Linked DNA regions of Homo sapiens: regions 2, 3 and 4 are each linked to region 1. The links are contacts of gene promoters, found by promoter capture Hi-C in blood cells and fetal thymus (Javierre and others, 2016). All regions are on one chromosome and are shown on one strand. The core of a region is centred on a gene start or on the middle of the fragment in contact, and the rest is flanking DNA. Distances in the headings are between cores, read along the strand shown.

Region 1 (3,342 bases), core at 251-2,750:
CTGGACGACAGAGCGTGCCTCCGTCTCAAAAAAAAAAAAAAAAAAAAAAAAAAATTTAGGCCGGACACGGTGGCTCACTCCTACAATCCCTGCACTTTGGGAGGCCAAGGCGGGATGATCACTTGAGCCCAGGGGTTCCAGACCAGTCGGGGCAACAAAGGGGGACCTTACAACTACAAAAAAAAAATTTTTTTTTTAATTAGCCACACCTGGGACCCAAGTACCTGGGACCACACTCACCTGTCCCGTGGCTCACGCCTGTAATCCCAGCACTTTGGGAGGCTGAGGCGGGTGGATCACGAGGTCAAGAGATCGAGACCATCCTGGCCAACATGGTGAAACCCCGTCTCTACTAAAAATACAAAAAGTAGCTAGGCATGGTGGCGCTCGCCTGTAATCCCAGCTACTGAGAGGGTGAGGCAGGAGAATCGCCTGAACCCGGGAGGCGGAGGGTGCAGTAAGCCGAGATCGCGCCACTGCACTCCAGCCTGGCGACACAGCGAGACTCCGTCTCAAAAAAAAAAAAAAAGTGTCTTCAACTCAGATAGAAGGAGTCAATGAGAAGGTTCTTAAAAGCCCGAAGACCTATTTCCCAGAAAACTCTAATTAACCTTATAATTTGTATAGTTAGTTACAGTGAGTATGAGCTGTCTTGCTCTGTACTTCAGCTGTTGTAAGTGTTTACGAACTGTCTCCAAAAACAGATGCAAATTTCCCTCATGGCAGAGATCGTAACGAATTTATCTATCCACTTTCTCACAGCGCCACACCGTTCCTTACGCACAGCAGGAATGCAATCAGTATTTGTCGATGGTTCCCCAAACTAACAGGAGTGGCTGCACTACGCACACTTAGGTGATACGTACACTTGTCAAAACGGCAGAAACGCAACCTCAATTTCAGAAAAACAAACCACATTCCTTTGGGAAGGCCACCTCTGCCACAAGCAGCCAAAGCGCTTGCATAGGGGTGAGAGGCGATGGGAAGGGTACTGGAAGGCTCCCCCAGATAAAAACAAAAGACTCCTTCCAATCGCCTCAAACACGCTCGGAAACCTCCACGACCTGCGCCAGCCCACAGGAGGGGGCCAGCTTGACCTGAGGCTGCACCACTCCCCACTTAAAGCGGCGAGTATCGGCGGGGGAGCGCAGGAAGCTTACTAGTGGGGCGACCCAGTCGTTCCGGCGCTTTCCCTCTCCCTTCACGTCTTACCTGCTTGGCCAAGAACCTGCCCAACTCACTGCGGCTCTTCTCGTTCTTGGCTGCGATTAACCGCAGCGGCGCGGCTGCCACCTCCAGCAAGAAGTGCTCCATGACCCAGGGCCCTCACCCCGAGCGGCCACCTGCGCTCCCTACTTCGCGGCCAGCGTCCCCAAGCCGCCGAGGTCCCAGTGCCCGAGCAGCCAGCAACTACGCCCGCAGGAAAGGCGTCCTCAGCTCCAGCGCCTACACCGGGAGAGGGGCACCACACGTGGGTGAGCACACGGCGTTTGACGTCATCAGCTCGGGACGGCTACGCTGCGCCCTCCCGGCCTCAGCCCCTCAGCGGCGGAAACGCCAGTCTTCGCTGTCCCGCCTTTTCCGGGAGGGAAATGGAAACAAAAATCTAGTCGGTTTGGATGCAGGAGTGATGGGGACTCGCGAACACAGCACGTGGTGGGACAGAAAGAAGAGTGCGTTAGGCCGGGGAGGAAAGAGGGGGCGTGTGAGTCTCAGCCCACCGTGCCTTGCTTCTGCCTTAACACACGGAAAGATCAGATGTGAGAGAAAAGCTGATTCTCGGCCGGGCGCGGTGGCGCATGTCTTTATCCCAGCATTTTGGGAGGCCGAGGAGGGCAGATCACTTGAGGTTAGCAGTTCGAGACCAGCCTGGGCAACATGGTGAAACCCCCTTCTCTACTAAAAATACAAAAATTAGCCGGGCGTGGTGGCGCGCGCCTGTAGTCCCAGCTACTCGGGAGGCTGAGGCAGGAGAATCGCTTGAACCCGGGAGACGGAGGTTACAGTAAGCCGAGATCGTGCAGCTGCACTCCAGCCGCGCGACACAGCAGACTTTTACTGTCTCAAAAAAAGAAAGAAAAGCTGATTCTCCCCTTCTTGTTAGCGGTGGCAGTTACCCCCTGTATAGGTAGGGGTCAGCAGTAACCTTAGTTCTTGCCTCCTCAGAAGAAATAATTCCACGAAGGGCATAAGGCAGGATAGACCTAGACAAGTTTCAGAATAGAAGTAAAAGTTTATCAAAAAGCTTTAGAACGGGACGGAAAGAAAAGGAGGAAAGTACAACTTGGAAGACTGCCAAGCAGGCGACTTGAGAAACCAAGTGCGCAGCTTGACCTGTTGACTTGAAGTTTTATATGTTGGCATACTTTGGGGAACTTGCATTGCTTCTCCCCACTCCTGAGATCTTACTGGGAAGCTACTGATCAGTTTCAGGTGTTTTCTATTAGGAGACTGCCTTTCGCTGGCCCCGGTGAACGTTAGAGAAACAGTTAAGAACCGCCTGACCATCGTTTGATTGTCACCCAATAGTCCTGGTATGTGTGGGGTGGGGAGCGCTCTCCTGTTCTGCTCATACCTAACTAGTTAACATTCTGCCCCAGCAATTCCCCTTGTAGGACTCTAGCCTGCGGAAATCCTCACTAAGTGTGACAAAGACACCCCTTGCAGTTTTCTTAATACAGATATTGGAAGAAAATGTTCAATTGGGAATATTAAACTATGGGGTGTAAGTTATAGCATATTCTGGAAGTCATAAAAAATAGTAGAGTCCATAACATTAAAAGTGCACTTGTGGGCTGGGCGCAGTGGCTCAAGGCAAGGCAGGCAGATCACGAGATAAGGAGTTGGAGACCAGTCTGGCCAACATGGTGAAACCCTGTCTCTACTAAAAATACAAAAATTAGGGCTGGGTGCCTTGGCTCACGCCTGTAATCCCAGCACTTTGGGAGGCCGAGGCGGGCAGATCACCTGAGGTCAGCAGTTTGAGACCAGCCTGACCAACATGGTAAAACCCTGTCTCTACTAAAAATACAAAAATTAGCCAGGTGTGGTGGTGCATGCCTGTAATCCCAGCTACTCAGGAGGCTGAAGCAGGAGAATCGCTTGAACTCAGGAGACGGAGGTTGTGGTGAGCCGAGATCGTGGGATTGCACTCCAGCCTAGGCAACAAGAGCGAAACTCCGTCTTTTTTTTTTTTTTTTAAGTGGGGCCAGGCGTGGTGGCTCACGCCTGTAATCCCAGCACTTTGGGAGGCCAAGGCGGGCAGATCACCCGAGGTCGGGAGTTTGAGACCAGTCTGGCCAACATGGTGAAACCTTGTCTCTACTAAAAATACAAAAAGCT
Region 2 (3,342 bases), core at 363-2,862, 630 kb after region 1:
TGTGCTGAAGGCAGTTGGGTTATAGCTTGGTTTTATATGTTTTAGGGAGACATAAGACATCAATCAAGGTATGTGAGATATACAGTAGTTAGGTCCGGAGAGGCCAAACAACTTGAAGAGGGGAGGGGTTGCTTATAGGTCATAGGTGAATTCAAAGATTTTCAAATTGGTGATTAGTTGAAAGGGTTAAACTCTGCCTGAAAAGTTGAAGTCGGCTTGAGGTAAGGGTTGGGGGGTGGTGGTTGTGGAAGCCAAGGTTTTTATCATGTAGACAAGCCTCCAGGCTTCAGAGAGAATAGATGTGAATGTCTCTTACCAAAGGTATCAGACTGTTTGGAGAGACCTGGTAAAGGAAGCAGATTCTCTACAGAATGCTAACTTCCCCCCACAAGAAACAGCTTTGCAGGGCCATTTCAAAACGTGTCAAGTAAGCATATTTTAGGGTCAAAAAACTTCAGTTTCTTTCAGGGCCCTGCTATCTGTCATGTGATGGTATAATAGTGAGGTTGAAATTTGGTGTCTTATGGCTACAGAGAGTCTGTTCAGTCAGACAGACTCCAGCCCCATCTCTGCCCCCCACCTTTCCATCATGACCTGAACTAGATTCTCAGGTTTCATTGTGTCCCCTTGGCTGAGAGGAAGACCCATTCAATCAGTGGGAGGGGCTTAGAATTTTATTGTCATTTATTAGCATTACCAAAATGCATAGAAAACACGAGCTGCATTCAGCACTTATTTATTGAGCATGTAGTAGGGACTAGCACTATTCTAGGCACGAAAGGTGCAGCCATGAATATGACAAAATGCTTGTTATCGTGGTTTTATGGTCCACGGTGGGGAAGATAATAAGCGAATCAGTAAATAAAGAAAACATAGAGTGATAAGTGCTCTACATGGAAGCCACTTTAAGGTAGGATGAGAGAGAGTGAGGGGGTGTGGCTAAGGAAGGCCTCTTTAAGGAGGTGACCTTGAAGCTGATGTCTGAATGTCAAGGAAGAACCAAATCTACAAAGTTGAGGGGAAGAGCATTCCAGGCAGAGAAACAGCTCTCAGGCACTAAGGTGAGAGAGGTTGGTATATTTCAGGGACAGAAAGACACTGGCTTGTGTAAACCAAAAATAAAATTCTAAGGTCCCCCAGCCATCTGAATGGACCCCTCCTCTTGGCCAGGACACTACAAAATTAACCTGAAAAACTGGTTCAGGCCACGACAAGAAGAGGGGGTGGGACATGCCTCATTATACCCTCCCCACTTTTGAAATTTAGAAAAAGCTGACCAGCATTCAACATCAACACAGACCTTAAGTCTAATTAGAAACATTTACAACCTGTGCTCTCTGAGGCCTGCTACTTGGAGTCTTCATCTGCATGATAAAACTTTGATCTCCACAACCCCTTATCATAACACAGACATTACTTTCTATTGATAGTAACGCTTTTGACCAATTGCCAATCAGAAAATTTTCAGATCTTCCTATAATCTGGAAGCCCTCCTTCTCCTTACAGGCCTTTCCAGACCAAACCAATGTATATCTTACATGTATTTGATTGATGTCTCATGTCTCCCTGTAGTGTATAAAACTAGGCTGTGCCCTGACCACCTTGGGTACATGTTCTCAGGATCTCTTGAGGGCTGTGCCATGGGCCATGGTCTCTCATATTTGACTCAAAATAAATCTCTTCAAATATTTTACAGAGTTTGACTCTTTTTGTCGACACCTGGTTTAGGAGGCTGAGAAAGAATGATACAGCATGACATGAGCAGCGGGCAGGGGCCAGATCACAGAGGGCTATGTAAGCCATGGCAAGGCATTGAGTTTTACTATAAAGAAGTTAGGAAGCTACTGAGGGGCAGAAAGCAGAAAAATCACATGGCCAGATGAGTATAGTGTTTTGGAAACTTTTCATTTTGATATGATTTCAAACTTACAAGAAATTTGCAAGAACAGTGAAATGGTTTGGCTCTGTGTCCCTACCCAAATCTCACCCTGAATTGTAATAATTCCCACATGTGAAGGGTGGGACCAGGTGGAGGTAATTGAATCATGGGGGTTATTTCCCCCATGCCGTTCTCGTGATAGTGAGTGAGTTCTCACGAGATCGATGGTTTTATAAGCATCTTGCATTTCCCCTGCTGGCTCTCATTCTCTCCCCTGCCACCCTGTGAAGAGGTGCCTTCTGCCATGATTGTAAGTTTCTGAGGCCTCCCCAGCCATGTGGACCTGTGAGTATTGTTTGTCCCAATACTGGTGATGTTAGCTTTGATCACTTGCTTAAGGCCATGTTCCCCAAGTCTGTCCTCTTTAAAGTGACTAATTTTCCCTTTGTAATTAATAAGTCATTCCTGAGGAGTTTCTTTGAGACTATGTAAATATCCTATTGCTCATCAAACTTTTACTAGTTTTAGCACCCATTGATGAATTTCTAAATACATCACTTCTATGTTTATTATTTGGAATTCAACTATAAGGAAGAGCTTTCCTTTCTTCCATTTATTATGTTAAAAAGAGATCATAGGAAAGTAAAAATGAAGCAAGGAAATCAGTTAGTAGGTTGTTGAAGTATGCCACAGGAGAGGTAATAATGGCTTCTACCAATGTGTGTTGGCAGAGGATGGAGATAAATGGATAGATTCAGCCTATGTTTTAAGGTGAACTTGAGAGTTTTGTCAATGGTTTGGATGTGAGGGTGATGCAAAGAAAGTTATCAAGGATAATTTCTAGATTTTTTGTCATAAGCAAATGGTACCATTTAATGGCTCCAGTTGGTGGTACCATGATGGTGCCATATATCGAGATAGAGAAGACTGGTGGAGGAACTTTGGGAGGGAAAATCAAAAATTTTGATTGGGCACAAGTTTCAGATACTTGCTTAACATCCATGTGGCAGTGCCAAGGAGTTCAAATAGCTGGTGCGAGGGAGAGGGAGTGATGGGTATATACATAATATTTAAAGCCACGACACTGAGTGAGACTAATGAGTGCAGACGAAGAAGAGGTCAGAGCACAAATCCTGAGCTACTTGAAGAATCAGAAGTCAGGAAAATGAAGCAAATTTGGCAAAAGTGCTGGACAAGAGGCAATTAGCAAGGGGGAAGCAGAACCAGGAGAGTGTGTTGCTGGGTAGGAGAAAAAAGGATTTTAAAAGGAGGGAGTGGCAAAGGCTGCCGACTTCTGCTGAGAGCTCAAGTGTGATGAGGACAGGGCTTGCAGGTTGGACTCTGCAGCATAAAGAGCGAAGGGGCTGGAACTCAGCAGAAGTGGGTTGAGGGGAGAATGCGAGGTGAGGAAGTGGAGGCAGTGATAATAATCAAGGACTTTAGGAAGGTTTGCTGTGAAGGAG
Region 3 (3,342 bases), core at 256-2,755, 610 kb after region 1:
ATTGATTACATCACTCCCCTGACTGAGACATTTCCATAGCTCTCCATTTCCTCCAAGACTCAATCTAATGATCTCAGCCTGGTGTATCAGAACCTCAAATATTCTAGCTCTTACCTGTCTCCCCATTCTTACCTCCTGCCATCTCCAGCCTTTCATTTCATATTTCAGCAGTACTGAGCTGCTTCTTATCATGTCCTCCTTCAAAATAAAGGAAAACAATAAATGATGTCTTTGTTCTTTGTTCTATCTGCCTGGAAAGCTTTTTCTCCCTTTTCTTTGCTGGAAGATTATCCTTCAAGATTAAACTTTGGTAGTAATGCTTCCAGGAAACCTGGTCCAGACAAGCCCCACCCCTTCTCCCCTCAGGTTGGGTGCCCCAGGGCATCCTGTATTTAGCCCTGTCCTAACATCAAATTGAAATGATCTGCATAACTTTTTCTTTTCAGATGACTTAACCCCCTCAAAGATAGGGGCCATGCTTTAGTAATCTTTTCACCCCTAGTGCCCAAAGAACGGAATGCCAGAAACCTAGTAGGTGTTTAATAAATGTTTTTGAAATCGAACAAAATTACGTTCTTACAAGGGAAGGCTCTTTGTGAGCTGTTCCAGTGCAACTAACCAGCTTCATTCATGCTATTCCAGTCTCTCCTCAGCCATGTGCTCCAGCCACATCTAATTCTAGTGCTTCTCTAAGTTAGCAAGGAACTTCCATGCCCCAGGGCCAATGCTCATTCCTGACTCTCTGAAATTCCTTACACTTCTCTTCCTAAGGTAGTCCTATTCATTCCTTAATACCAAGCCTCAATATCATTGACTTTGAGAAGTTTACTTTGACTCTGCCAGACAGAAGGAATCCTCTGCTCTTCTGTTCCTCACAGCCCTAAAGATAACATTACATTGTAAGTAATTTATACAGATGTCTTTCACATAGACTGTTTGTCGAGTTAAAGAACCTTGTTTTACTCATCTTTGTGTTTCCAAAGCCTAGCACAGTGCCTGGCACATGGTCAGATGGTAGGTGTTCAATAGGTGCTAGATAAATAAATGAATAAGTGAATTGTAATAGACACTTGATAACCATTGTCTGAATGGGCACAAGAAGAATCTGATACAATTTGTTTTCATAACAGAATAATATGGCCTAATTCAGGGTCTGGGGCTCAGATGCCAAAAAAGTCTCTCTCCTCCAACCTAGCCATGTGTTTTTGTGGCTTTATGTAACCTTGTCCCTCCACAAATGTACATGGGAATGGAGGGGTACAACCCTGGTCCCAAAAAGGAGAAGTGAAAACATAAAATCATGACTGATGGCCTTCAGTGTCCCAGATCAAAGTTTGAGGGAGAGGGTAATAGGGCTTTGGGTAAGAACTTCACCATAGAGAGGATGAGCTTGAAGAGGTAAGCTGAACTCAATACCAGGGTTTGCATCTTTGCTGTGAGGTGCTGATCTTCAGAAAGATACTAGCAACACTGCTGCAGCAGCCACCTGTTGCCATGAGAGAGCTTTGGGGTAAATGGTTGCAAACATGACAATTGAAAGAGCTGTGCTATTCAACTGAAACACTGTAATGCCTGGGCTCAGGCAGTGTTGCTGTAGGTCATACCTGAAGACAATCACAAGAAGGAACACCTACACTCCTACCACAAGAAGCCACACCAGCCTGGGCAAATTGTCAGAGATCTCTCCTGGTCATAGTGGCAGGAGGCAGACAAATCCTAGGCAGACAGGGGTGGGTCCCTGGTGAAACCCCATCTCCAAACCAAAGACACTTTAAAGCCTAAAAGCCTAGCTACAAGCTAAATCCATGGACCAGATTGAGAACCTGTCTTCTGGTTTTGCATGTTTTCCTCTGATTGATCCCCATCCTTCACCTATTTTACATATGCCTACCCTTCCCTAATTGGTTTTTTCCGCTGTTGTGCCCACCTTTGAGTGGTGCCTTTGTTTTAACCATTTTTGCATATTCACAAACCAATCAGCACTCACTCCCCTATTCTGAGCCCATAAAAGCCCTGGACTCAGCCACACTAACAGAGAAAAACCACCCGTGGTTGACCACCCTAGTGTCCCCTCTCCTCTGAGGGCTGTTTCATTGCTCAATAAAATTATTGTCTGCCTTCCTCACCCTTCAGTTGTCAGCCTATTTTCATTCTTCTTGGATGAGGGACAAGAGCTTAGAAACCACCCAGTGTGGGTATGAGTTACAACAAAGTGGGCTGAGGTATGCAGGCTGAGCTGGTGTGTAAGCCCAGCATGGCCTGGTGGGCTGAATGGGTAGGGTGTCTCCTGCATCACTGGGGTATATGAGGGGGATGGCTCTGTGTTGGTGGAGGTGGTGACAGTGCTGACAGCAAGGCAGAGGGTCAGCAGATGGATGGCTTGGTCATAGCCACATGGCTGGAGTGTGGGAATTTTCAGCCTGGCACTCAGCAATAGTGGGCTTCTAGCTCCACCTGCCATAGAATGTTGGCAGAGCAGGCTGATGATTGGGGTATCAGGTAGACAGGGCCTTGTCTGGATTTCTGCAGCCACTGCAAGGGACTGCAGTAAAGATTAGTTCACTGATACACGCAAGACACTCTGAGGAAGTTCTTAAATATTTGGAGTGAATTATTCTGGAAAAGACTGAAATTCTTACCAGAAGTAGTGGAGGCTTGAGGCCCTTATAAGTTAGGCCTAATTGTAAACATGGCTTATTTTGCATTCACAGGTTGGTGAAACCAGGGACAAAGTGATGACATAGATGAAAGCAAGCTTTTGACTATTTAAGTGAAAAGATGTAATGATGGGAGGCATTATAGCCCATAATGGACAGGGCCAGAATTTTACTCATCAGCCTGGACCTCTTCACACAGGGCACTATACTCAACTCAGTTTTCTTGCAATTGGTTGGTTATGCTCGCTCCTGCAAATGCAATTTGTAAAGCGCCTTGTGTCCACAGCTCCTCAGTCTGATGGATGCCTGACAGGTGCATCTCAAAGGCTGCCCTGAGGGACCTGATTGCCCCTTCCTGACCCAGGAAACCTTGGACCCTTACCCAGGACCCCAGCTTGGCTCAGTGATGGGCCATTCCCTCCACCGTCCTCTCCTCTCATGAGTAGTTTTGCTTGGAGATCACCTTCCTGACAGCCATTTCCCTCACACTCTGAGCCCTGTGAACTTGAACTGCAATAAACTTGAACTGCAGACCAAAAATCTAAGTGTCCTGACCACAGAATCTCATAAATTGTGCACTAAGTTCTTCGGGAAGTGGTGGGCATATTTAAGATGGGATTAATATATTCCTTCAACATATATAAGATGAGATTAATCTCTGAGAAATGTGTTGAAGGAGAAAGAC
Region 4 (3,342 bases), core at 587-3,086, 580 kb after region 1:
GAACTTCTGGTGGCCATGTTTTTGTCAGGCTCCGATTGCCTCTGGTGATTGTGCCTAAAGTTTCAGGAATAGGAAGCATGAATTCCCTAACTCAGTCAGTGGAAGTAATGATGAAATGACCCACTCTTCCCATCTGTTCAAAGTATCTAAAGTATACTGTGTATCTGGAAAGATGACTGGGCCTTTTTGGGGGTTTTTGGATACTCTCAAGCTGGCAGCCTCCAGCTTGTGCAGCATATAAAAAGTACAATGGGTCCTGCAGGTATAGCCACTGTTGCACTCCCTTGCCATAGAGTGGGTCCCTGGGTCTGAAGCAATGTTATGAGTGATGTGAACAAGTCAGAAGCTCTGAGAGCACTCAGATGGTGGGCCTGGCCCAGGCATGGTGGGCAGGGGAGGTAAAATCCAGGCCCAGAACGTATATCAATCTTAATAAGGACAAATTACTGCCCCAGCTCTTGTCCTAGGTGGACGGGATCTGATATAATCAACTTGCACCAAGTGTTTGTTTGGTCTCCTCCAGGCATGGTATCTTATCCAGCCCTGGGGTTTGTTTCTGCTGCTGAGAGATCAGACAGCAACAGCAGTAGCAGTTGGATCAACCTCAGTGTTTGATCTTTCCTCCTCCCTCCTGCTAATTGCTCTGTCTACCTGATTTTAGATACCTGACCCTAAACAGGCAGAGACATATTTGTTAATGAGACGTTGCTAATGATCTTTTCGCTCAAACTAGGTGCTCTTATCTCCTGCTGTTTCTTCAAAGAGTAATTTTCCCAGATGTGTTTGTGATCCAAGCTCAACAGATCACATTGTACTTCAAATAGGCAGCAACAGAAAACTTGGATCAAAGTAAAACTAAAACTACAACTTTGGAAGGAAGAGGTGGGAGATTCTGCTCTGGAAGAATCAGCTGACAGGAGCCTAGGAAGGAGAGGAAGCTGACCCAGGGACCTAATTCTATTTAGTTACTAATCTGCTGTAAGCAATTACATTTGAAGATCCAATTTTGCAAAAGATCAATGAGAACCTCTGGATTTCTCTCTTGTAGTAGTTGTGTAATGATCTGAAGCTCATAAGCCCAGGGACATATCTTATTTTCCCCCATATTCCCAATGCCTGAGCCAGTGCCCTGCTCAAAGTCCCGAATAAATATGTATTTGTTGAGTGGACAAATAAACAAACAAATGGATGAAGTCTCGTAGATAGAGGGTGCTTTGTAGGAAATCATTTGAGTAGCAAGATTCTCCAACCCACGTAACACAGGACCTGATTTGCAGAACTTTGTTTAGACATAGCATTTCAAGAGCACGTTTTCTGAACCATAAAGGAAAGTAGGGTTCTAGATGAATAATGCCTTTTCACAGTGTCTGAGTCACCTCACACCCCTCACCCTCATCTGATAACGGCCCTTGGCAGATCTGCCCTTTTGCAGGGGATTCCCCAAGGCTCTCACCTCTTGCCTGCCCCTGTGTGTGTGACTGCAGCAGGCACAGGGTTGCCAGGCACCAGAATATAAGCACAGAGCTGGAGGAAATGGGAGGAATGATAGGGCAAGTTTATGGCAGTGAAACTTCCTGACAGTATGCATTTATGGGAATATCATACACATTTCACCTTATGATGGTATTTTTTATGCTGACAGGAAGATAAAGCTGGGCAACAACGGAAAAGTTGACTACCAAGGTAGTGTTGAAAAGGAAAGAGTTTGTTTCAATGAGACATTCTCATTATAGATGTTGGCTTAGTCCAAGCTTCTGCCTCCTCTCCCATCACAGAGGTTCTCTTCTTCTAATATATTGTGGAGGAGGGGGGTTTGTATCAGTGCAAACTGTACTGCCTCTCTCATGCTCTTGCTTCTACAAACACCCCTCTCCAAACAAGGACACCACAAGGGCGTGACAAGCGGTGCTCATCACAGCCTCTAAGCTTCAACATAACAGGATTGTCTTTCTCTTCAGTTAGATAGGGACATTTAGATAGAGCTTTGTCCCTCAACAATCTATTGAAGAGAGCAAAAGCAGTAGAGGCCCAACAGAAGTTCATTTTGGAACTTGCTAAATTAAAAGTAAATAACACTCAGCATATTAAATGCCCTCTAAAAATATGTGAAAGTACTCAAAGGCCTTGGCATCCAGGAAGTTCCCTGCAGGATGTCCACCTGCACTCCAGTGCTAGCTCTGGGAAGCTGTATGAGCCTGGTAAGTCTTGTGCCTTCCTGGGCCTTGGTCTCCTCCTCTGTTAAATATGTGATTTGGACCTTCCTTCTTTCCTTCCTGCCTTCCTGCCTTCCTACCTTCCTTCTTTCTCTCCTCTCTAGCTCTCAGTATAGAAACCCTTTCTTTAGATGCGATCTCTTAAGAAAGGAAAACTAATATATATAAGAATATTAAGCATGAACCTTCTCTGGTTAAGCGAAGCAGGAGAGAGGTCGGAAGTATATGTTTCCAGAAGCCCCTGAACCTCAGGAACCTCTAGGCTCCAGTTGGAAAAGCCCTGTAGCTGTGTTATTTCATGATCTGCAAACTCTCTACGAGAGCTGCTTTCCTAGTCTTACCAGCCAAAGAAGACGTAGACTTTTCTAGCAAGGAGGACAAAGAGTTCGGGAATATCCATTTCAGTCAGTTTTCAAAACAATCTTGTATCATTAGGAGAAACACAAACTTGGGTCTGAATCCCTATCCTTTAAAGGACTCCTACAGACTTGGCTTGGGGTTCCTAACTGCAGGGAAAATAAATCCTCAATCATTTACCTTCATGACATAGGAGACCCAATGATCAACAGTATTTCTCTGTATAATCTTCTTTCTGACAAGCTCTCCAAACAAAAGAAAAGAGAAAGAGAAATGGCCATAGGAGGGAAGACTTTCTTCTAGGGCATTTGAGAAGATTGTCAGACCCAGATGCGAGGCACCACCTTTCCACCTTATGCCTCATTAATGGAAATAACGCAAAAGCCCAGATCTAAGGCAGAGCTTCCCACCTATGAACCTGCATCTCAATCTTCACCTTCCAGGAACCAGACAGTGTCTTCTAGGCTGATTACTTCCAGTTTATCTCATTATGATGTCCACATATTATAGCTCCCCTCTCCCTTGTGATGAGCATGGAAAATATCAGTGACTCCAAATCCCAATTCTTTCACCTTAGAAAACAAATCTGAGAATCCCTCTACCACCAAGCACAGTACCTGGATACAACAGGCACTCATTAAATGTTTGCTTAGCCAATGCAAGGATAAATGAATGAAATTCCTCATCCCTGTATTCATTTCTGAAGACCTGCTGGTGAAAATTTAGCTCTAAACATCTTTCAGATTTATTCCACTGAGGTATGAAAAAGGGA

What was found. Contacts are between HindIII fragments. The CHiCAGO score rates a contact against its expected background, and 5 or more counts as called.
Region 2: a contact is called between a fragment that was not itself captured here and the fragment with the promoter of MDN1 in region 1, in 3 of 17 cell types (total CD8 T cells, naive CD8 T cells and activated CD4 T cells). The highest score is 6.4, in total CD8 T cells.
Region 3: a fragment that was not itself captured here is called in contact with the fragment with the promoter of MDN1 in region 1 in 2 of 17 cell types (activated CD4 T cells and naive CD4 T cells); the score reaches 7.0 in activated CD4 T cells.
Region 4: a contact is called between a fragment that was not itself captured here and the fragment with the promoter of MDN1 in region 1, in 2 of 17 cell types (naive CD8 T cells and total CD8 T cells). The highest score is 7.7, in naive CD8 T cells.

The regions. Positions count from the first base shown.
Region 1 is chr6:89,818,294-89,821,635 of GRCh38, forward strand. It overlaps MDN1 (midasin AAA ATPase 1), which reads right to left and starts at 1,501. Exons shown (of 102, transcript NM_014611.3): 1 at 1,213-1,501. The coding sequence starts at 1,314. RefSeq lists enhancers at 1-578, 1,155-1,544, 1,199-1,818, 1,819-2,438. The HindIII fragment of the contact is 1,090 bases long and covers 1,154-2,243 here.
Region 2 is chr6:90,450,168-90,453,509 of GRCh38, forward strand. No RefSeq gene overlaps it. Among named protein-coding and RNA genes, the nearest start is that of MAP3K7, 140 kb to the right of the region's middle. The HindIII fragment of the contact is 8,218 bases long and covers 1-3,342 here.
Region 3 is chr6:90,431,863-90,435,204 of GRCh38, forward strand. No RefSeq gene overlaps it. Among named protein-coding and RNA genes, the nearest start is that of MIR4464, 120 kb to the left of the region's middle. The HindIII fragment of the contact is 2,496 bases long and covers 258-2,753 here.
Region 4 is chr6:90,396,667-90,400,008 of GRCh38, forward strand. No RefSeq gene overlaps it. Among named protein-coding and RNA genes, the nearest start is that of MIR4464, 86 kb to the left of the region's middle. The HindIII fragment of the contact is 175 bases long and covers 1,750-1,924 here.